2 separate regions of the Homo sapiens genome follow, and region 2 is linked to region 1. Evidence: promoter capture Hi-C in human tissues and cell types (Jung and others, 2019). All regions are on one chromosome and are shown on one strand. Each heading gives the region's core, a stretch centred on a gene start or on the middle of the fragment in contact. The rest is flanking DNA. Distances are from core to core; before and after follow the strand shown.

Region 1 (6,809 bases), core at 2,591-5,090:
TATTTCTTCCTCTTATACGAAACCAATCTCTCCATCTCTCCTCTAAATAGCATCTCTCCTCTATATACCATCTCTGTTAATCTTCTCAGGAAGTCTACCCATCCCATTATCCTTTCTTTCTCTTACCCCTTTGCTGATGATTCTAACAGCATTTAAAATGTCAGGCCTCTCCCAATCTAACATAATAATAATGAAGAAAATTTTCCTGGACTCCACATCCAGGGACTGAGCACGCTGTCTTTTCTTTAGACAAATTTCATAGAAATGTTTAAACTTGCTGATTCTATTTTCTCATAATCTCCTCATTCCTTATTCACTCTCATCTGGCTAAAGCCCCCAAACCTCACAATGAAGGTCCCAGTGGCCCTTGTATTGCTAAATCTAGTAGATACTTTTCAGTCTGCATTGCATGATCTCTAGGCAATATTTGACCCTGTTACCCATCCACTTGTCTTTGAAAACACCTTTTCCTTGATTTCTATGTCATATTCTGGTTGTTTTCCTCCCATCTCTTTAGCTGCTTATTTTCAGTTTCTTTTGTCCATTCCTGTTCTCTACCCAAGCCCTAGGTAATCTCTTCCACCCATATGGTTTCACAGACTCTATGTTAATAACTCTCAAATATGTATCTTTGGTGCATTCTTCTTTCACCTAAACTCTAGACCCATACAGCCAACTGCCAAATATCCTAAAGGAGATATCATTTGGCTATTTTGAAGAGAGATGAAAAGCCGCATGTCTAACACTATACTTACCATCTCTGCCCTCACACCATATACTCCTTTTCACTGTCTGCCCAGGTGCTCAAACCAGACTATTGACTTGTTCCTCTCCTTCTCTCCCAAATTGATCACCAAATTCTGTCATGTCCAGCTCTTAAATATCTTTCAAATATTCCCCCTTTTCTTTGCCTTTACTGCCACCACTGTTGTCCAAGCCACTAACATCACTTACCTGATCTATTTAGTATTCATTCATCAGCAAATTATTATTGAGTTTCCGATACTTGCCAAGCACTGTTGTAGACATTGAAGGTAGAGCAGAGAATCAAATACAAGAGTTCTCTACTTTGTAAGTAACACCTAAATCTTTGAATCCATGCTTTGTCTTCCAACTCTTGAAAGAGACGTTGGTATAGAGAAATCGTTCTCTATTATATAATAAACAGTGCAGGCAAAATACATGGCAAATGACATTTGCACCAGTGTAGAAAAGATAACATGTGGTGGAATAAGCTCTGGGGAACTGGAGAGTGGGTGCCTTGACTACAAAACAGCCTTTATTTAGGTCTAACCATTGTTTCCAAGAAGAAATATGAGCCAAGAGAGAGCATTCAGACCTTCTAGTTTTTCAATTCTAGTGTTTATGTGACATTGTCTTATGGGTTTTTATATATTTCCTTGCTTTTAAAATTTATTTCTTTTTCTTTTCTTTTTTTGTGTATTTTTTGTAGAGAGAGGGTTTCACCACGTTGGCCAGGCTGGTCTGGAACTCTTGAGCCCAAGCAATCTGCCTGCCTTGGCCTCCCAAAATGCTGATTATAGGCATGAGCCACTGCTCCTGGCCTACAATTTATTTTTTATTTTTTTGATACCTTACATCCCATATTACAAGCTATTTTTCTATGCCAAAACATGTATTTTGAGGCCGGGCGCGGTGGCTCACGCCTGTAATCCCAGCACTGTGGGAGTCCGAGGCGGGCGGATCACGAGGTCAGGAGATCGAGACCATCCTGGCTAACACGGTGAAACCCTGTCTCTACTAAAAATACAAAAAATTAGCCGGGCGCGGTGGCGGGCGCCTGTAGTCCCAGCCACTCGGGGGCTGAGGCAGGAGAATGGCGTAAACCCGGGAGGCGGAGCTTGCAATGAGCCGAGATCGCGCCACTGCACTCTGGCCTGGGTGAAAGAGCGAGACTCCGTCTCAAAAAAAAAAAACAAAAAAACGTATTTTGAAAATCACTGTGCTTTTTGTTGGAGGTAAGATGTCTGAAACCTGGAAATATTCTTAATCTAGAATAGGTCAGATCCCAGACATATTGAATAAATTATGTTCTGCTATATTTATAGAAACACTTCCAAAGATTTTTCACATAAAGAATCTTAGTAAACTTAACAGAATGAAATTTCCTTTACTTGACAAAGATCATATAGCAAAAACCTTCATAAAATATTAATGGAAAAACTTCAGATGTATCTCTTTAAAGAACAGGAACAAGAAAAAATAACCTCTACACTGCTATTTGTTATAACTACTAGACGATATTTATTCTTGATTTTTTTCCATGTTTGGGAGTAAACTCATGATTATTTTGCTATCACCACCTCACCTTTCTAACATGATAGTAATCAGTCTCTTAGACAAGATCTCGTTTTTTAAAATCATTTGGAAAAGACTATGCCTACCTTCTTTTATTTTAGTAAACTATATACAATATAAACATTTCCATTTTAGTCATTTTCAAGTGTACAGTTCAATGGCATTAAGTACATTCACGTTCTTGTACAACCATCACTACTATCCATCTCCAGAACTTTTTCATCATCCCATACTGAAAATTCATACCTATTAAACAGTAACTGCCCATTCTTCCCTTTCCCCAGCCCCTGGTAAACACTATTCTACTTTCTTTCTTTATGATTTGACTATTCTAGGCACTTCATATAGGTGGACTTATACAATATTTGTCCTTTTGTGCCTGGCTTATCTCAGTGTATAATGCCTCCAAAGTTTATCCATGTTGTACCATGTATCAGAACTTCATTCCTTTTTAAGACTGAATAATATTCCATTGTATGTACATGCAACATTTTTTAATCTATTCATCTGTTCATGGATATTTGGGTTGCTTCCACCTTTTGGTTATTATCAATAATGCTACAATGACATTAGAGTACAAGTGTCTGTTTGTGTCTCTGCTTTCAATTTCTTTGGGTATATTACTAGGAGTAGAATGGCTGCAGAATATGTTCATTCTGTGTTTGGTTACAAATATATGTGGAGGCTGAATTGGCCCCAAAGGCCACCAATTTACAAATGTGTTTTAATTTCATTTCACATTAAACTTTCCAAATGAGCTAGGAGGAGACAGAAACTTACCGTGGCTTATCACGTTCCAAGCATAGTGCCAGGTACTGGTGATAAACTGGTCAAAAAGATTAGGAGTTTAAAGTCCTAGCGTCAAGGAGTTTGAAGCTGAGTAAGAAGACGTGTGAAAAAAACATACTTTATTTTAGTACTCTGTCAGCAAATGTTTATAAATACAGGGCCCAAACAGAGAGTAGGTTGAAAAGAGGATTAGAAACAGTTTTTTTTTTTTTTTTTTTTTTTTTTTGAGACAGAGAGTCTTGCTCTGTCGCCCAGGCTGGAGTGCAGTGGCGCGATCTCAGCTCACCGCAACCTCCGCCTCCCAGGTTCAAGCGATTCTCCTGCCTCAGCCTCCCGAGCAACTGGGATTACAGGCGCGCGCCACCACACCTGGCTAATTTTTGTATTTTTAGTAGAGACGGGGTTTCACTATGTTGGCCAGGCTGGTCTCAAACTCCTGACCCCAAGTGATCCGCCCGCCTCGGCCGCCCAAAGCACTGGGATAACAGGCGTAAGCCAACTGGCCCGGCCCAGAAGAAGTTTTTAGGATATATGGAGGAAAACACAACACAACACAGCTACAACTCCGTGACAACTGAGAGCGTAGTCTTCGAGTACCCAGTTGCCTACTGACAGCCGTCTCCTCTAAGGCGCTTCTTTTAGCCAAGAAAGCGTTCTTTGCGTGCTGTGACGTAAAAAGCAGCGCCGGAAGGGAGAGGGCGGAACTTCCGGCTGAGCCCCAGCGACCGCTCTGGTCGGCTGTGTAGACTGTTGGGTAGGCTGCGTGCTAGCTTCGGCGCGGATCCCTGGGCGTCCGTACGTCGGAGTCCTTCGTCCTCCAGGGTCCCTGTTCTTTGCGCCAGCGGGAACCACTATCTCTGCACTCCTGGTAAGCGAGTTTCTTCTTTCGCCTAATGTGTGTGTTGGGGGTGGGAGGACGCCGGAGACGTTCCAAGATGCACTTAGTGGAGCATGTGCGTTCGGAAGGCCCACGGGTAAGAGGAAGCCCAGTGATTTTAATAAACTATAACTAGTACAGTACCTGAAACAAAATCAGTGGTTCCTGAAATGATGTACTTGATTGCTTTTTACAATTGGGGTTTTCATTTCTGTGGTATTCTAAGTCCTTGCCAGTTACAAGAATAAAACTTTTAAAACTCCTTCTGAAATCAATGTTTATTAGATTGGGGCCTGGGGACCCCAGTTAAATATTTCCGGGATTCTAAAGTAAATTGTTTTCTCTTTAAAGGGAGGCTGAGCCGGGCGCGGTGGCTCACGCCTGTAATCCCAGCACAATGAGAGGCCGAGGTGGGCGGATCACGAGGTCAGGAGATCCGAGACCATCCTGGCTAACACAGTGAAACCCCGTCTGTACTAAAAATACAAAATAGCCGGGCGTGGTGGCGGGTGCCTGTAGTCCCAGCTACTCGGGAGGCTGAGGCAGGAGAATGGCGTGAACCCTGGGAGGCGGAGCTTGCGCCGAGATCGCGCCACTATACTCCAGCCTGGAGTGACAGAGCGAGACTCCGTCTCAAAAAAAATAATAAAGGGAGGCTGAACTTTTTTTTTCTTTTTTTTTTTTTTAATGAAGGAAGCATCGATCTAGGGTATTAGAAAAATATTTGCGTGATTACTGTGAGCCAAATACTGTCAAGCATTGGATTCAATGTTAACATTATAGACAAAGTCCTTGTCCTCATGGACACTAGTTAGTCCTTACCATCTAGTGAGGCAAATAGATAACCAGGCAATTACAGTGCAGTGTTAGAAGTACTGTCATAGGCACCAGAGTGCTGTGAAAAGTAATGGTGGAATACTTGAAGTGTGAGGTGAAGAATAGCTAGAGATGCTGCTGACCTGGCCGCAATAAGCTTAGAAATATATGTTGGGAACAATACCAATGGATAGCAATATCCCTTGAAACAGAACATTGAAGGAGGATCAGATTGTGAAGCAAAGGTAGAGGGGTTATTTCGATTTGTTGCGTTTGAGGTGTTTTTTGTTTGTTTTTGTTGTTTTGAGACAGTCTTACTCTGTCGCTCACTGCAACAGATTTTGTTGCAAAATCTCGGCTCACTGCAACTTCCGCCCCCCTTATTCAAGCGATTCTTCTACATCAGCCTCACGAGTACCTGGGAAGTAGAAGAATCGCCCCACTTCAGCCTCACGAGTACCTGGGATTACAGGCATGCGCCACCACACCTGGCTAATTTTTGTATTTTTAGTAGAGACAGGGTTTCGCCATGTTGGTCAGGCTGGTCTCAAACTCCTGACCTCAAGCGATCCTCCCTCCTCGGCCTTCCAAAGTGCTGGGATTACAGGAGTGAGCCACTGCACCCGGCCTGCATTTGAGATGTCTTTCTAATGCATGGTCATTGAAGCCACAGAAGTAGGTCACATCTCAGAAGGGAAATGTATAGATTGAAAAAAAAGAATAGGATAGAATGCGGAGTTACATCCACCTTTAAGGGAGGGGCATCTGGACATCAGTGCACAGGTCAGAGAGCAGGAAACCTAGGAGCCTGTGCAGGGTCATTAAATGAAGCCAAGGGAAGAAGGAATTTTTCAAGTGTTTTATTTGCATTTTGTAAAAATTTGAATTCCCTTTATTTCTTTTCCTTCAAATTTGAGACAAGTTTTACATCTTTAAGCATCTTCAATATCTCATGGACATCCAGGCTTTTAGGATAAAACTGTGGAGCTTTATATACATTTATATACATTTGTCTCAATCTTGGACATTTTCTTTGTTAATAACATTATTTGCTGCAAAATAAAGCCTGAACTGGGGAAGAATTTGTTGCTATTTTTTGATCAGTAGATCTTGGTATATTTCTGTAACGAGGGCATTGGTACAGCAGTTTCTAAGTGCTTTTTACCTGTTGCCATTCTCAGTACCTTTCATGTCCTTTGTCTTTATTTGTTGCTTTTGTGAAGGATCTTATGTTTGGTTCTGTATCTGGGCTTAGTGTAGAATGGAGGAGTATGCAGCATCATGATGTCAGCTGCCTCGGTGGTACATAACTTTGTTGCCCAGTAACATTGATTCTCTGGGCCCCTAGATAAAAATCTAAAAAGGATCTTCAACTTATCCTTTTAGCTAAAGCAATAGTGAAATTCATGTCTAAAATAAGAACCCAACTTTTTTTTTTTTTTTTTTTGAGACAGAATCTCACTCTGTCACCCAGGCTGGAGTGCAGTGGCACAATCTCGCCTCACTGCAACCTCCAACTCCCGGGTTCAAGCAATTCTCCTGCCTCAGCCTCCCGAGAAGCTGGGATTACAGGTGCTTGCCACCATACCTGGCTAATTTTTGTATTTTTGGTAGAGATGGGGTTTCTCACCATGTTGGCCAGGCTAGTCTTGAACTCCTGACCTCAGGTGATCCACCCACCTCAGGCTCCCAAAGTGCTGGGATTACAGGCATGAGCCACTGCGCCCGGCCAAGAACCCAACTAAGTTTTAAACTTTTTACTCAATGAGTGATCACAGGCTGTAGACCACAGGAGTCTAGGAAAAAAATTGGTACAAAGATTTTACCTTGTGTTTCAAAAATTGATTTTATTTTGCTATTTCAAATTTATACTTGCACAATTAGTTGAGAAGTTATAAAAATCTTTGTCTAATTTTTAATTGCATTTTTCTTCTTTTACAGGGGTTTTGTTACATGGCTGCTTTCCTCAAAATGAGTGTTAGTGTCAATTTCTTCAGACCTTTCACCA
Region 2 (6,211 bases), core at 3,151-5,650, 790 kb before region 1:
CATGTGATGAGATGATACAGAGGACTAAAAAAGAACCAAAAACCCAAACAATAAACCCCACTCAAAATCAGCTCCATTAATATGAAGAAATATGCAAGTACTGGACATCAGACAAGGTGAAAAGGCTGCCAAAGATCTGGCAAGTTATATTAGGGATTTCTGCTGTTAGCACTGAGCCCAGTGGTATGAGATGGACATTGGAAATAAAATAAAAAACTAGAATAACCCAGATAGACCCCAATTCACCAATTCATATTTGGGGGAGGATTTTTTTTTGTTGGGGAGGCTCACTGCAACCTCCGCCTCCCGGGGTCATGCTATCCTCCCACCTCAGCCTCCCGAGTAGCGCACCACCACACCCAGCTAATTTTTTGTAGAGACAGGGTTTTGCCATGTTGCCCAGGCTGGTATTGAACTTCTGAGCTCAAGCGATCCACCCACCTCAGCTTCTCAAAAGTGTTGGGATTACAGGCGTGAGCCACTGCGCCCAGCCTTAGGAAGATTTTTCATTGCATATTTAAAATACCCCAAGAGGAGGATGATTTTTTCTGAACAATTTTGTATGACCATTCTTCCAAAAATTAAAAATTAAACTGGAAGACAGTGGCCATGGTTTCTGGATACTATTGGTGCAGCTATTAAAGTACTGATGACTGTTATCTAGTGCTGTCACTGAGACTTCTTTTTGATCCAAAACTATCTCTCAGCTGGCTCTCCGAACGGACTGGAAAGGGAGAGGAAGGGAGAGAATTCTGAATTAAAATCTGTCCATTTTATATTTTTTCCTCAGCTGTGAAGGGATATTTGTTAGAAAAAGATGGAAGGACTTAAAATGCAAGTAAAATTGATTAAAAAAAAAAAAAAAGGAAACCAAACAGCTTAATGGAAAGAAACAAATTAAGCCACCTGCCTTGAACTTGGTCTCAGTCCTCCCATCCGTGGAAGGTTAATAATATCTCTTCATACTACTGCTTATGGGGATTAAATTGGGTACAGGTGGAAAGTGCCTTGATAGTATTTTTCATAGATTTTGTTCAACAGGTGGTACCTATTATTATGCTGCTTTTATTATTATTTATCATCCTTGAGTTGTGGTTTGAAAATATGACTAGAAAAATTTTAAGATTCCAATAGGAAAGGTTCACGTGCTGCTAAATCACCAAAAGAACAATTTATATGACACTCCAGTTGGTTATGCACCAAAGCAACCACCTTCAGAAAGCATCTTTGGCTTGGGACATTCCTCAACTGTATGACATTCTTCTTAATATTAAACCTGCCTTTTAGTAGTTGAAACTTCTATTGCATGTCTTCTCTGATTTCCATTTGGCTCAAGTTTTTTTTTTTTTTTTTTTTTGAGACGGAGTCTCACACTCTGTCGCCTAGGCTGGAGTGCAGTGACGCCATCTCGGCTCACTGCAAGCTCCGCCTCCTGGGTTCACTCCATTCTCCTGCCTCAGCCTCCGGAGTAGCTGGGGCTACAGGCGCCCGCCACCACACCCGGCTAATTTTTTGTATTTTTAGTAGAGACGGGGTTTCACCGTGTTAGCCAGGATGATCTTGATCTCCTGACCTCGTAATCCGCCCACCTCAGCCTCCCAGAGTGCTGGGATTACAGGCGTGAGCCACTGAGCCCGGCCTGGCTCAAGTTTTAAAAGCTGATTTAATAATTTTTTTTATGGAAGATCAGAATTCTCAAAATGGATCTAGAAGCTTTCTTCCTAATTAAAAAGACATTTAGAATTTCAGAATTGTAGCTTTTGAATATACATTTGTCTTGTGCTTTGTAAATATATATTTCCCATTTTTTAATCCTTTCAAGTGCTAATACCTTTTCGTAAATCCACCATTACAAAAATTGCTCCTACCGATAAACATTAACAATTTCTAGTTTATGCGGCATATTCAAATATCTTATTTTTCTCCTCAGGATAAATTGATAACAATGAGGATTATTATTATTATTACACCTAAGGAAACTAAGGCTCAAACAGTCTAATTTTATACACAAGTTGAGTATCTAAAATAAAGCTGGTCTGGGATTTAAATCTGTGTCAGCATGCTCTTGGACTATCAGATTATGATGCTGATAACTAACAACTTGAAGTTGCCCAAGGATCCAGGCTATGGCCAATTTTTTGGTGTACCTTTTTCTACTTCAGTATAGAAAGGACATGTAGAAGCAGCTGAAGCTGGATGTCTTCACTGGAGGTGAATATGTGTCCCCATCAACTCAAAGAAAGAAGCCAACTCAGGGGGAAGAATAGATATAACTCTATTATATCTCAGTTCCTTTTTGTAAAGTCAGTTCAAGAGATATAAGAATTAATCTCTATATTATCTGAGCTGCTGGTTTGTAAACAATCGCTTTTGAAATCAAGTGGTATTTAAGGGAACACTAAAACAAAATGGAATGAAAAACCAACAGGATTTTAGGGCAAATGGTCTAATGTTTAAATACGGACTAGGTGAACTATGGTTAAATACGAACTTAATTCTATTTAGGAAATTCTGCAGCTAAAGAGATGTGATCCTTGTCCACAAAAATTGTTATAAGTCCTCTGTATCATGTGACAGATCTCAAGCACCTCATTAACATTTAGTAACAGCATTACAAAAGCAGTTTGGTTAGATGGATAAAGTATACTCTATCCATGATTTTTTGAGATTAAACATATATACAATCAGAAAGGCCAATTCTTCAGCTTAATAAAGTTACATCGGATATTATGAATATATCCAAGTTGATGTGTATTCGATAATTAAATGTATTAGATTAACCAGTTCCAACTCAATGTTCCGTATCTTTAAGGCAAATGAAATTTTATAGATCATTTAGTTTCATGAGAACTAAGCCTCAGATGATCACAGGAACTCCTTACTAGCACAGTATATGAAGAGTTTTAGACATTTTAATGGATGTAGATAATCAGTACTGAGAGATTAATTGATTTTTAGATATTTGTAGTACCTATTAGCACAGTCCCAAGGAAAGAAGCAGGACTAGGAAAATCTCCAGGAACCATGGGTAGCAGTGGGTTCTTTCTCAAAACAAAGGCTAGCTTTGCATGAGAAAGGGAAACTCACAAAACGTGGTAAAGAAAGCTAGTTAAGATAAGCCGCTTACACTGGAAGTTGCCCAGATCCAATGGTTCTGTCTGAGGAGACATAGCTGCTGTTTTCCATGTGCAGTAGGAAATGTTTTTGGCAGATCCTGAGTCCCTGCATGCGCTACCTGGTCCTGTGCACTGCTCCTCTCCCTTCCTGATGGCCTCTTAGTTGACCCCTCTATTCCCTGCCTGCCTGCACCAGGTACATGGCAGGAACTTGGGTGGCAGGAATTCACTTACCATGCTATTTGCTATATCCTCTAGCTGATTTAGCTTGCTAGTCTTTTTTCATCCTCCTCTCGTTTGACTATCCTCTTCGTTATGGAGAATCAGACTGTTGTATAACAAATTCAGAGTGTCTTGGGGTTTCTTAGTTTTTACAATCATTTTTAGAGGAATTGGTGGGTGGTAACAGAATAAAAATTTCTTAAGATGAGAAGAAAATTGATCAGGAATAGAATTTTTGTTTTTATTTATCCTAAGACAGTTGAAGTAACCTTTAGTCTGCTAGAAAGTTCTAGGTCAATAAGAAATGGGGTTGGTGAAAGGAAAATTAGTTTTAAATTAATCAGCAATGTAATTTTCTGGATAATGAAAGACTAGCTTCTTCTTCATTGTGTGAAAAAGAGTTCTGAGAGGAGATGGAAAGAATGCAGCTTGAGGAGATTTACTAAATTAACAGGGAGACCATAACAAGGACAAAGATGATCTTTTCTCATCCTATGACATTGTTGACAATAATGTGCCTTAAAGGCAGCAAAACTGCTAGTTTTGTCTCCTCCCCAGGTATGCTTCACATGTCAACGTTGACCCAGGGTACCCCACTCCCAGGGTATCTTGTTATCAAAGCTTCCCACCATAACAGTCCTCATGCCATGATCTTACCAGTGACAGTGTCATTTAGTGGCTTTTCCCAGTCCAAGATGACAAATGAGGGGCACCCTTCCACGGTGACCACAGTGAGGTTGGTGGGTGGGTTCTGTGGTGGGCTGGTGGCATTCCCCTCTGTGGCCTCCTCTTTGGGGAACCGTTTGACAGAGTCAGTAATGGAGCAGGGACTGTTGTCAGGCTTTTGGATGTATCGCACATGAGGTCCTACGAGAGAGAGGACCCTTGACATTTAACATTTTTGAAACTCATGAAGAAGATAGAAGTGAGCTCATAAATATAATTTGAGGACATTTGGTCTCATATTATAAGCGGATGGTTGAAAGCCATGATGTGGATGGTTCAAACTAGGAAAATTCAAAATCTTGCCTCTGAGATACGTGATATAGGGTGGTGTTGATTTACTTACTGAATAAGTTTAGCTTATGCTAATATCCGAAAGTAATTTGATCCCCCTAAGCATAGTTTAAACTTCATACTTTATGGGGCACTGGGTCTTACCCTCAGTGGTAGGGAATAATTAGCTCTATACTAAACACAGTTCTGGTCCCACTCAATAAATTTTAAAAACTAGACTCAAAAGAATCAAGTAGCTTCAAGTATTTTACTGTATCCCAGAACAAAACTCAAGAATAATCTAGGAATAATTAAAAAAAAAATCCAGCACCTAAAAGGTAAAATTCATAGGAAAATATTACCTATAATAAGGAGAAAAAAATCAATCATTTGAAACCAATGTAGATCTCACATAGATGTTAGAATAATCAGATAAGAATTATACTTATTACTATAATCCACATATTCAAAAAGTTAGTAAAGACATGTATGATATTAAAAAAGACCCAAATCAAATTTCTAGAGATGAAAGCTATAAGACAGAAGATGCACTGGTTAGAATTAATACCTATAAGATAATACAGAATAAATGATTAGTGAACTCAAAGACATAGCAATAAAAACATCCAAAAAGAGGGAGAGAAGATAAACATTAAAAATAATGAACATCACTGAGCTGTGTGGACCATTTCTGGTGGTCTCATATACATGTAATTGGAGTACCTGAGGTAAAGAAGCGGGTGAGCAGAAAAAAATATTTTAAGAAATAATGGTCCCAAATCTTCCAAATATGATAAAACTTCTAAACCCATAGATCCAAAAAGCTCAAAGATACCTAGAAACAACAAAAATGTAGAAAACTATATGCCAGTCATAATCAAGTTTCTCAAAACAAGTGATAAAGAGAAAATCCTTAAAGGAGGCAGACCAAAAAAAGACATGTTGTATACAGAACAACAAAGATAAGGATTGTGGCAGATTTCTTACTAGAAAGAATGCAAGTGAGAGGCATTGAAACAGCATCTTCAATTATTGAAATAAAAGACATCATTTAGAATTTAATAAGTAGTGAAAATACCTTAAAAGCAAAACACTTTTTCTAGACATACAAAATCTGTAAGAATTTATTTGCCAGAAGGCCCACACTAAAAGAAATATTAAAGGAAGTCTTTCAGGTAGGAAGGAAACAATGCCGACAGAAATATGGAGCCACACAAAGTGATGAAAAGCGCAGTGACAGTAAACACATAGGTAACATACACAATGTTTTTCTTATTATTTATCTCTAAAAAATAGTTTACTGTTTAAACATAAATAAAAACACCTTACGGTAATGTATATAACATGTAAAAGTAAAATGTATGACAATAATAGTCCAAAGGCCAAGAGGGGAGTAAAGCTATGCTAGTGTGAGGTTCTTATATGTGAAGTTGTAGATTATCACTAGACGGCAGATTGTGATAAATTAAAGATACATACTATAAACCCCAAAGCAACCATGAAAATAATAAAACAAAATTACAGTTAATAAGACAACAAAAAAGATTAAATGAAATCGTAACATACTCAACCTAAAAGAAGATTGACAAAGAGGAAAAAAGGGAACAAAGAATAGATGGGAAAAATAGAAAGCAAATAGCAAGATGAAGATTTAAATGTACCAATATCAATAGCCATATTAAATGTAAGGTTCTACACACCCAAAATAAAATGCAGGCTGGGCGTGGTGGCTCATGCCTATAATCCCAGCACTTTGGGAGGCCGAGATGGGTGGATCACTGGCAGTCGGGAGTTTGAGATCAGCCTGGCCAACATGGTGAAACCACATCTCTACTAAAAATACAAAAACTATGGGGATGGTGACGGGCACCTGTAAT

The links. The method cuts DNA at HindIII sites, captures the fragments that hold promoters and counts their contacts. A contact is called where the count stands out against the background at its distance.
Region 2: a contact is called between a fragment that was not itself captured here and the fragment with the promoter of TRMT10C in region 1, in 1 of the 25 tissues and cell types used here (lymphoblastoid cells).

Annotation. Positions count from the first base shown.
Region 1 is chr3:101,558,028-101,564,836 of GRCh38, forward strand. It overlaps TRMT10C (tRNA methyltransferase 10C, mitochondrial RNase P subunit), which reads left to right and starts at 3,841. Exons shown (of 2, transcript NM_017819.4): 1 at 3,841-3,976; 2 at 6,743-6,809. The coding sequence starts at 6,755. RefSeq lists enhancers at 3,827-3,896, 3,907-3,976. The HindIII fragment of the contact is 17,919 bases long and covers 1-6,809 here.
Region 2 is chr3:100,766,748-100,772,958 of GRCh38, forward strand. It overlaps ABI3BP (ABI family member 3 binding protein), which reads right to left. Exons shown (of 68, transcript NM_001375547.2): 62 at 3,996-4,205. Among named protein-coding and RNA genes, the nearest start is that of TFG, 60 kb to the left of the region's middle. The HindIII fragment of the contact is 3,129 bases long and covers 2,837-5,965 here.